3 separate regions of the Homo sapiens genome follow, and all the other regions are linked to region 1. Evidence: promoter capture Hi-C in 16 types of primary human blood cells and fetal thymus (Javierre and others, 2016). All regions are on one chromosome and are shown on one strand. Each heading gives the region's core, a stretch centred on a gene start or on the middle of the fragment in contact. The rest is flanking DNA. Distances are from core to core; before and after follow the strand shown.

Evidence for each region. The method cuts DNA at HindIII sites, captures the fragments that hold promoters and counts their contacts. A CHiCAGO score of 5 or more calls a contact.
Region 2: a contact is called between a fragment that was not itself captured here and the fragment with the promoter of KANSL1L-AS1 in region 1, in 7 of 17 cell types (neutrophils, fetal thymus, activated CD4 T cells and 4 more). The highest score is 11.1, in neutrophils.
Region 3: a fragment that was not itself captured here is called in contact with the fragment with the promoter of KANSL1L-AS1 in region 1 in 2 of 17 cell types (neutrophils and fetal thymus); the score reaches 6.7 in neutrophils.

The regions. Positions count from the first base shown.
Region 1 is chr2:210,028,672-210,032,331 of GRCh38, forward strand. It overlaps KANSL1L-AS1 (KANSL1L antisense RNA 1), which reads left to right and starts at 1,251. Exons shown (of 5, transcript NR_110291.1): 1 at 1,251-1,327; 2 at 2,796-2,836; 3 at 3,492-3,660. KANSL1L (KAT8 regulatory NSL complex subunit 1 like) reads right to left here. Exons shown (of 15, transcript NM_152519.4): 9 at 2,750-2,875; 10 at 1,132-1,247; 11 at 174-298. The HindIII fragment of the contact is 1,781 bases long and covers 537-2,317 here.
Region 2 is chr2:210,133,366-210,137,025 of GRCh38, forward strand. All of the region lies in intron 2 of KANSL1L (KAT8 regulatory NSL complex subunit 1 like), which reads right to left. It overlaps LOC107985977 (a long non-coding RNA gene), which reads right to left. Exons shown (of 2, transcript XR_001739866.3): 2 at 1-3,660. Among named protein-coding and RNA genes, the nearest start is that of KANSL1L, 36 kb to the right of the region's middle. The HindIII fragment of the contact is 1,178 bases long and covers 1,230-2,407 here.
Region 3 is chr2:210,104,733-210,108,392 of GRCh38, forward strand. All of the region lies in intron 3 of KANSL1L (KAT8 regulatory NSL complex subunit 1 like), which reads right to left. Among named protein-coding and RNA genes, the nearest start is that of KANSL1L, 65 kb to the right of the region's middle. The HindIII fragment of the contact is 3,488 bases long and covers 192-3,660 here.

The DNA of each region.
Region 1 (3,660 bases), core at 1-2,500:
GATACTATATAACACTTAAGGCACGAGTAATTTTTTTTTCACCGTTTCCCCTCCATGGCTATGAAGGAACTGGGAGAAGGATGCTCCTTTCATTAATTAAAATTCTTCACTTTGAAAATTTAAGTTTATTAGGGAAGGAAGGAAGAAAAATATGAAGATGTAAGTATACATACCTTGGAGTAAGTATTTCCTTATATTGGAGTTTCTCTAATTTAGCTGGGGCTACTAATGACATGGGAATCACAATGTTATCTATGTCATAAGAGCTCTCACTTCTCAATCTCCGTCGTGCAGTATTCTGCAAAACAGGATTACAGTAGATTTACAGTACTGTCTAGTTACTTGTAATGATACCCTCCTTTCATCAGTTATGTAAATATGGCAGTACACGTTACATAATTTTTGTAAATACATTGTTATAAAGTCTGACTAAAAAATGTTAAGAAAACCAAAAAATAAAACATTTTTCTATCTTTTGTAAATCAGAACAATCTCTTGGTAGATGTGTAATGTGTATTTATGTGTGCAAGCATACAAGCTTATTTTTAAGACCACAAAAAATAGGTCTTAAATGCAAAACTCTTTATCAGAAAAGACCAACATACATCACCCTAAATGTCAATGAAAATGATCAGTAACCACTTTTTATTAGGAAAGGCAGTGAAACATTTTTGGTCAGCCCTTCAGTATACTCTTCATTTATGCATTCCTGGTTCCTGAGTTTCGGAATTCATTTCTAAACCCTCCCACCTTTTGACCTCTCTATTCCCTGGCCAGATAACAAAAAAACAAACAAACAAACAAAAAACAGGACAAGAACAAGAAAGTCCTGAATTCTCATTAGTAAGACTTTATTTAGCTTAATATGTTAAGGAATAGAGATGATCATGATAATGTTTAAATTTTTAACACATAAAAAGAAGCTATAACCAAATATTAATGAACTTTTAGCTTCATAGTTAAAAATAAGTTGTATGAATCAAATATATTGTTTTCTAACAAGATAGTTATAAATGTCTGTTAATATGTGCTAGTAAGGCTGTTATAGATTAGCAAAATATAAATTATTTTCAAAATCAGGTGTTTTTATTTTTAAAGCTATTTTAGAGTTCAACATATGGAAAAACCTACTCGTGATGAATTCTGGATTCTTGATAAAACGTTGACATTGGAAACAGCAGTAAAATTGCTATGGGATCCTGATTCTGTGTGTTGAAAATCAGATTCTTCAAGTTTAGTTCTTTCTCCTGCCATGGAAAGAACCATTGAATGTTACACATTAAACAAGTCTAATATCATTAGAATTACTTTCCTAATTAGATGACAGGTGATTGATTCCTTGTTTTGTGTGTGTGTGTTTAAATTCGTGTATTAGAAAACAAAAAAGGAAATGAAAAAAGAGGAGCCTTACTTGCAGTCATGCCACAAGTTATTTCCATTTTCTGGGGCTTTGGCAGTTTTTATCGAATATATTTCTTATTGTTCCCTGAATAATCCCTCATCTCATCCCTTTATTCTTGTTTCCTGTGACTCCTATTCATAGTTGAACCACCAGAACTATCTTAATTTTCTTATCTAATCTCATTTTTCATATCTGACTTTTTATCCTAATTTATGTGAGGTATCTGTCCTTGGTCTTCTGAACACTCTTAATTTTTTGAAAAAATTCTGCTATTATAAGTACATGTTTCCGAAAGTACTTGTTCTCTGGTACTCTTTTTTTAAAACAGCATCCTGTTCTTGTTTCATAGATGAAATTTCTCATATCTCTCAGGATATTGATTAGAAGTTTACTTCTGTTAGTATTTTCTGTATATCTTCCAAGTTCTTTTTTTTTTTTTTTCCTGTTTTGGTTCCCAGTTACTGTGTGTGTGTGTGTGTGTAGTAAATATATATATGTATGCGTTTACTTACTGCCCTTATTTTAGTACAAGTGTTTTAAAATGAGAATATTTCCTGCATAATATAAAATCTAATACCCAGTCCATATTTAAATATCTCCATTTGTTAAAAAAAAGTCCTTTATAGCTAGTTTCTTCAGATAAGGATCTATATATAAAAATTGGCCATTGTCTCCTAGGTTTCTTATAGTCTAGAATAAATCATTTTTCATTACATTGACTTTTGACAGGCTGGACCAGATGTCCTACCCTTTTGGAATTGTCTAGTTATTTATTTGTAGTATGACATTTCTTTATTTTATTCCTGTATGTACATCAAACTTGAAGTTAGATCTAAAGTGTCAGTCAATTTAAGTGAAACATTTTATATCTTAGGTAATGTATACTTCATGTTGCATCTTATTAGATGTTTTTAAAGCTTTATATATATATATAAGTTGAATCTTGTTGACTTTCTCAAAATCCTGAGGAATCTGCAGTGCATCAACATCTCCACAGTAGGTACCATAAATGGTTAACAGTTTCTGTAAGGCAACTTTGCACTAGCCTATTTTGAGCATAGAACACAACTTTGAAGATTAAATCCCATCCAGGGACTGATTGGTAGAAGACAACTAGTCAGGGAACATAGGAGGGAAATACTTAATTGCCATAAAGTGGGTAGATACCAGTCCACAAATAATTCTAAATTAACTACGAATATGCTGTTTCATGTTTGTAGACTCATAGATGTTTTGTGTTATTAGTGGCTGTTCTGGATTATAAACTCCCATGAGAGGTTATTTTAAAATCAGAATTTTTAATTTTTAATATTTATCACTACTGCTTATATCCTCACTTTAACCTACCTAATGCTGTTTCACTCAAATGTCTTTTCTTTCTTCCCTGTAACAGTTGTGCAGAAGATTCTGACCTTATTTGAGGCTTACATATAGGTGAATATCCATTTCTCCATTGATTCAGAGTACTATGTACTAAAACAAATGAAAAGGAAATATTAAGTTTTAGTTCCTTAACACAGACAGTGAACATGTCAATCTGTTTTTATTTGTAACTGCAGAATTTTAAGATACCAGTTCAAAATTACAGATAAACATAAATACCAAGACACACAACTCCAACTAAAAACATCCCCAGGAATTTCCAGTTTCTTATATTTTCTCCATTTTTTTGAGGGGGATGAAAAGGGAAGATGATCTGTTCTCAAAGTCTTCCAAATTACAGAAACTTGATAGAGTGAGGATTGGCTCAGATATATAAATCTTGGCGATCAGAATCTTTAAGTTCTTGCTTACCTTTAAATCTGGAAATAAGTTGGGACCAAGTAAGATTCAACATGGTCAGACTAGACTGTGCGAGCAAGAACCAGAATCATTTAATATCTCTGATGCCTTAGTTGCATCATCTGTAAAATAGGGATAATAGCAGCGACCTTGGATAATGATTACATGAGTTTATTCCTGTAGTAGTAAGTAAAAGTGTCTGATGTGATAAGTGTGCAGTAAATGTTAGCGTTATCATGATTGTATATCTGAACCCCCTTATTTCCAGCCTTGGTCTAACAACCAAATTGGCTTCTTTTTTTGAAAGGTTTGGAGATGTGGAAAGGAGTGGAAAAAGAAATATGTAAGCTGAAGTGCCAAACTCACACTGAAATAAAGGGCATGGCCTACCAGCTGACAAGGAGTGTCTGGTTTCAAGATGGCAAATGACCCTAAACATGATAGACAAATACGTTTTACATAGGTACATGCACAGA
Region 2 (3,660 bases), core at 569-3,068, 110 kb after region 1:
TATAGTTAGTTGATACACAGATACAGAACCTGGGAATACAGAGAATGGTTTGTATCCCCCAATTATTCCACAATGCCAGAACATCTATAGTGATATTTTTCCTTCTTCCTGCTATTAGTATTCTTCTAAATAATCTTGCTAGAAGTTTATAATTCTCTCCATTGTTTTCATGTTTTATATTCTGTGAATATCCACTCTTTATCATCACCTTTTCCTTCTATTTGCTTTGGGTTTAATTTAGTATTATTTTTATTGCTTTTTAAGTAGGAGACTTAGACCACAGACTACACTATTCTCCTTTCCTAATACAAACATGTATAGCCATACAGCATTGCTTCAGTAATTTAGTAGCTGCATCCCTCAAATTCTGATATGTCATGTTTCTAATATTATTCAGTTCAAAACATTTTATAGTTTCTCTTGTGACTTCTTCATCCACGAGTTATTTGGAAATGTGTGATTTAATTTCTACATATTTCAGACCCACATATTTACCATTTCTTAACATTTCTTTTTTCCTTTATGTAAATCTGTTTTTACCCAGTATGATTTTCCTTCAGCCTGAAGATCATCTTTTAAAATTTCTTTAGTGCGTGTATACTGACAACTTCTCTCTATTTTTGCTTATCTGGAAATGTCATTTTGTCTCTGTTTTTTAAAATGTTTCACTGGGCAGAGAATTTTAGACTGACTTTTTTTCCCCACCTTTCAGCACTTTAAATATATCATTCCATTTTTCTGGCTTACATACCTTCTAGTGAGAAGTTAGCAGTGATTTTTATTTATTAACCACTTCTTCTGAATGACTATTCCCTTGTTAGCTGAAGTCGTTTTACATTTCAGATATTTTTAGCTTCTGAACGTTCAATGGTTCTTTATATGTTCAATTTCTTTCATTATGTTCACATTTTCCTTTTAAGTCCTTGAGCATATTTACAATAGATATTTTAAGCTCTTTGCCAACTACTTTCATGATCATTATCATTTCCACATCAGTTTCCATTAATAATTTTTCTCCGCTTCTTTGCATGCCTAATAGTTGAATACACACATGTGCACATACATACACACATGTCTAGTAGGTTTTATATAAATACATATTTTAAGGGTACTATGATTATGTTGTTAATGTGTGGATTTTGTGGTCTTCCTTAAAGAGTGATGAATTCTGTTCTGACAGGTTATTATATTACTTGCTGTTCAACTTCATAAATTTCAGCTTACTTTAAAGCTTTGTTAGAGCATGTGTAGAGTAGCCACTACACTAAGGCAGTTATCAAATTGAGGGAGAGGTGGATAGTCTGAGGAAAATAACTAGTAAATTAATAAGTGCATAGGCTTAACAACTATGACAAAATGAGATCTTTGGCTGTGGTATTTTCACATATAACTGACAGGAAGAAAAAGAGAATGGAAACCTACATTTCGGAGGGAACTCGACTAGGAAATACTACCATAAGCCTAACAAAGACTATCCCTGGGAGCCAAATCTGCACCAATAGAAAGCAGGGTGAGAATGCAGTGGTGTCTCCAATAAGAGTACACTAACACCCATGTTAGATACAGTCACAAAGAATCATAGACCAAGAGTAATTCCCAAAGAGCAAGGTCAGGGACTATGAAGGACAAATGACAAGGGAGCTTATCTCAGAAAGCAAAATTAAGGTCCTAGCAAGACCTTACTCCACTGCCAGAGCAAGAAGTCTATTATTGTAAGGAACAGGAACTATCATATATGGCCCATTCTTTTTTTTCCCATTGGGAATTTTCCTTGTCCTTTATACCATCATACAAGAAGCAAGAGGTCAAGAAAATTAGGAAACTTGTCTCTTAGTTTATTGGTCACCACATCATGATGAACCACACAGAAACCCGATATAGAGGACTTTACCCAATGAATGTGACTTTGGGTTATCATCCTTGAGAAGATGGTATGTTTTATGAATGAGAAAGAGGTACATGGACATTTGGGTAGCCAAAGAGGCAAACTGAATAGACTTCTTGTTTTCCCCTAATATCCATCCTCCTATACTTTTTGGATAATAGAGCTCCTTGGGTTTCAGCTGAGCCCTCAGCAGCTCAGCTTAGAGACCTTATTTCCCAGCCTTACTTGCAGTTAGGTCTGACTATACAACAAAGTCCTTGAAAATAAAACGTGAGCCAAAATTATGTGCACAACTTCTAGGTCTGGCCATTATAAATGATTGGGTTTATCATTAAAAATGACTGAATATGGAAATGAAATGAAGTACCAGTGACTCTCAACAATGCAGGCAAGGGCAGCATCCTAAGGAACAGCAAAGCTAAAAGGTCTCTGCTAAACCCTGTAAAGCATATCTAATTCTTGACCGTTAAATGAGAGAAAAATAAATTCTATATATTTATGTTGACTTCTCCTTGTTATAAAAGCTTAACATATACCTTAAATAACATATTCCTCCCTCGAAAATATTTCATGCTATTAGGATCATTTGGGCTAACAAGTTCTCATTTAAAATGTTCATTGTCTTTAAGATGAGCCTTACTGACATACAAGTTAATAACTTACATACTCTATCATCAAGTTGTACACACACAATATAGACACATATATGCACACATTCATGAAGTAAACAACAAACAAAAACAAAAAAATAAATATACAGTTGTGACCTCTAGAAATTCTGGCATGAAGATAAACCACATTAAAAAGTGCAGTTTAGGATGTCCAAGGACTATCTGAGGTTGGAACTTAAAAAGGGTTCCAAAAAGGAAGAATAAATGGAGTAAACACATCTTGAGATCTTATGCAATTCTGCCTAGAACTCTGGCAGAACCTAGTGTCAACTGCCTAAACTGAAAATTTCAGTATTAATTAAAAATAATTCATATATGGGATGGGCAAATTTAGTCTTCTTCTCTTATTATCTATCCTCCCACCCCTCAAAGAAAAAAAAGAAAAAAAAGGAGAGATTGGGAAATATTTATGCATTCTATCGCTACCACGCCTCTTCTCTTGTATGGAAAGAATTTTCAAAGTTATAGCCTGTAAAATAGTCTTAAATATGTTTGTAAAATCTTTGTGTAACATCAAACATTGACAAATAAGGACATATTTTTAAAAGGGAAATACTGTAAATAAATGTTAAACTAATCAAAACATTTATTTGCTAAAGAAACAATTTCACTGTTCAATAAGCATTGTGTGTATGTGTGTGCATGTCTCACTTTTGTTCAGGAAGCCAGGCAACCATGTAATGTTTTCAAACTGAACTGTACACGGGCCTGGATGAAGATGCAAGTAAAATCCAGCAAGAGTTCTGTACTCCAAACCCTGCAATTACAAACCTACATCTGCTCAGTGGAAGGAAAATCTTTTCCTAATGCACACAAATGAGTTAGTAATGGGCCTGCGAAACACTATAATGGGCCCTGAAAAGAAATAGGATAAAAATTAAAACTACCTTTATTAATCAAAAAAATGACTACCACTAAGCCAGAATCAAGTACAGGCATTCCTGCTCTAACACAATATATGCACTTCTGTATAACCTCATGTTCTGCAAAATAAAAATAGTTAGACTTATTGTGAAGATAGTGCCAGACCACACAATACCTAAGGAACTTTTAAATCTGAGCCCTAACAAAACAATAATGATTATTATAAAAATGGAAAGTTTC
Region 3 (3,660 bases), core at 686-3,185, 77 kb after region 1:
ACCAAATTTACAAACATCCAAACAACAATCTAACTCTATCCTAACTCCTTTCAGAGCACCCTAAGGAGCCCTGCCCCTGTTGCTGTCAGCCAGCAACCAGGGATAGGACTGCACCACTGAGAAAAAGTACTCTCTAGGCCAATCAAAGTTCCCACTGCTTTCAGGGTAGCTGTGTTAATAATAAAGACACAAGCTTTCAACTTTGATGGGGTATATTCTGAAATGTAAGGAACTGGGGGAATGAATAGGGATCAAGTTGTCTCTGTACTCTCTGCCTCCTACTCACAAACATACTTATTCCTCAACTGGTTTGCTCGGCTTTCTCCTCCATTCCCCAGCTTCCTCACTCCAACTGTTCTCAACTTTAGGTTCCTCAGAGGCAATGGAGACAACAGAGAAAGAGAAAAAAGGAGTGCAAAGGCATGATCTTAATGGTTTCATAATCAGTTCCCACTGTAAAATTTCTTTCCTTCCTATCTATTCTACCACCCTTCCTCCTGAAAATAATACAGTAATATATACCATATATATATTACACATACACAGATATTATGTTATATATATACTGATATTACATATATTATATATTATATACACACACAGGTTTTACATATATAAATATATATATATATTTGAAAAAAAATATATATATATATATTTGAAACATGCTAATAAATTCCTATAGGCTAGTTGGAAAATTATTACACTCCTAATGTGGCTAAAATACTATATTATTGTAATAAAAAATAAACTAACATTAATATTAGTGTGCATTATTTCAAAAATGGAATGAATTAAATGATTGCTGTGGGCCACCTACATCATGCATAAGTCTTATTTATAAGATGGAAATTGCCTATAGATAATAATGTGTTATATATGAGTTTTAGTTTACACTATGTAATTTAGAGAATATATAACTTTAGAATGCACATATTCAGTTATGGTATTAAATGTATATTTTATTATTTTGTAGTAAAATTTTTGGTAAAAGTAGTAAATGCGCTTTTTAAAAAAATCTACATTTTGAATAGTGCTAACATGCTGACTTTTCCAAGGAGAAGGGGAGCCACTTGATCCCAATTACTGTTTTCTTAGAATGAACAAATATGGCCGTCAAGAAATCTGAAGAAACATGCTCAAAAGTTCTTATTTCATTTGGTATTTAAAAAAATAAATTAGATATAATAGATATGGTATCATTAGTCTGAAAAGCTCTTGAGAGTATCCATTCAAAATTTCTACAAGTCTACACACAAAAGGTACAATTTAAAATGTGGAAGCCCCTACTGCAGGATAACAAAAGAAATCTAAGAGAGAAACCATTTGATATAGCCAGTGTTCTCCCAAGAAAAATATTTCAATTTTTTTCTGAAGGTGAGAAGAATCTGTTGTCTTATTAGAAAGTTTGAAGCAGGGAGAAGAGGAAATTTCAAACCTACTCTCACTAGGTTTCTCCACAAGTACCTGCATGTCAAAGAAACACAAGTTCCACCTTATCAATTTAACTGCAATTGTCTTTGGTTTGATTCCAGTTTATAGTATGGGCCAGTCTGTATAGATTAGTCTGATATCAGTCTGTATAGATTAGTCTGATTTCAGAATCCATATTTATAAATCTGCATCTATGGGAAAACTCTACTCTGAATTTCAAAGTTCTATTTCCAAACCTTTAGAATACTACCTTTCTATAAGTACAAAGCCTGCTATAGTTAGTTTAATAAAGAATTATATTTTTAAAATTCAACCAGGGAGGCAGGGCATGGTGGTTTACGCCTGTAATCCTAGCACTTTGGGAGGGTGAGGCAGGTGGATCACTTGAGGCCAGGAGTTCAACACCAGCCTGGCCAACATAGCAAAACCCTGTCTCTACTAACAGTACAAAAATTGGCTGGGCATCATGGCACATGCCTTTGGTCCCAGATACTTGGGAGGCTGAGGCAAAAGAATTGCTTGAACCCAGGAGGAGGAGGTTGCAGTGAGCCGAGATCGCACCACTGCACTCCAGCCTGGGTGACAGAGACTCTGTCAAAAAAAAAAAAAAAAATTAAAATTCAACCAGGGAGACCGTCATAGTCAACTTCATAATCTGTTTTTTCCTCCATAAACTACTACCCTGGACAAAACTGTTGGAGTGTGAGGAGAGTGGCCCATTCTGATCCACCACTGCCAAGAATGGAGAGGAAAGGGTTGAATATTTATATTTAATCCTCTGGGGACACAGCAGAGAGTTTCTGTTCTTAAAAAAATTAGTAAAAGGATATTCTGATATGTAAAACAACATAGATAAGAAAGACAAAAAATATTTTTAGAAAAACGAGTTACAACAACTGAAACAAGTCAAAACTCTAGCATAAGATGAAAGCAAATCAACTGTTTCTGAGAAGAGAAATCCTGACAATGCAGGGTCTTCACAGAGAAAACACTGTGTGAAAAAAGAACTGCCTCAGCAACATCTCTATTATTCACATAAATTCACTAAAGTTAATTTTAAGTAAAACTTTAAATAAAAAATTTAAAACACACAAAAGGTACAATTTAAAATGTGGAAGCCCCTACTGCAGGATAACAAAAGAAATCTAAGAGAGAAACCATTTGATATAGCCAGTGTTCTCCCAAGAAAAATATTTCAATTTTTTTCTGAGGGTGAGAAGAATCTGTTGTCTTATTAGAAAGTTTGAAGCAGGGAGAAGAGGAAATATAGGAATCTGTAATATGTTGACAAAGCTGTCGCAAGAACCACCAAAGGATGTTGCTAATAACTGCTTTCTTCTCCTCAAAAAAAAAATATATATATATATATTTTTTTTTTTTGAGACAGAGTCTTGTTCTATTGCCCAGGCTGGAGTGCAGTGGCGCAATCTTGACTCACTGCAAGCTCTGCCTCCCGGGTTCACGCCATTCTCCTGCCTCAGCCTTCCGAGTAGCTGGGACTACAGGTGCCCGCCACCACGCCCGGCTAATTTTTTAAAAAATATTTTTAGTAGAGATGGGGTTTCACCGTGTTAGCCAGGATGGTCTCAATCTCCTGACCTTGTAATTCGCCTGCCTCGGCCTCCCAAAGTGCTGGGATTACAGGCTTGAGCCACCATGCCTGGCCTTCTCCTCTGAAAATTTAAGCAAAGTTTAGACCATAAGAAGAATGGTAAAGGGGCAAATGATGTGTTTTCTGACTTAAGGCACAAACTAGCACTTATTGAAACAGGATATTTACAAAACAGCATCTCTCAATCTCTTTCCTTTCCCTTTATCTCTAACTTAAGTGAGAACAATTTTTTTTACATTTAAAATACATTAAACAGAAAGTTCTATTTCAAGACAGTACTGGCCATCCTTCTCAATTTTTTTCTTACAATAACTCAAGAAGCTATAAGAGCAAGGAAAGTGATGTTTTTCTTATATAATAACATTTCAACTAAGTTGCATATAAACAACTAAACACTTTGATTAATTCCTAATAAATGTAATGAGAAACTACTAAAATAACAAAAACATTGTATTCTAATAACCTAATTTTGTGGCATGTTCCATAAAATAAACATAATGATATTCTTAAAGGAACAAAGGGCCAGATACACATTTATCCTGAATTAAGAAAAAGGTAAGGTCATATAAGTTATTACAGGGAAGTTTATACGTCTTTCCTTAAAACAATTTATT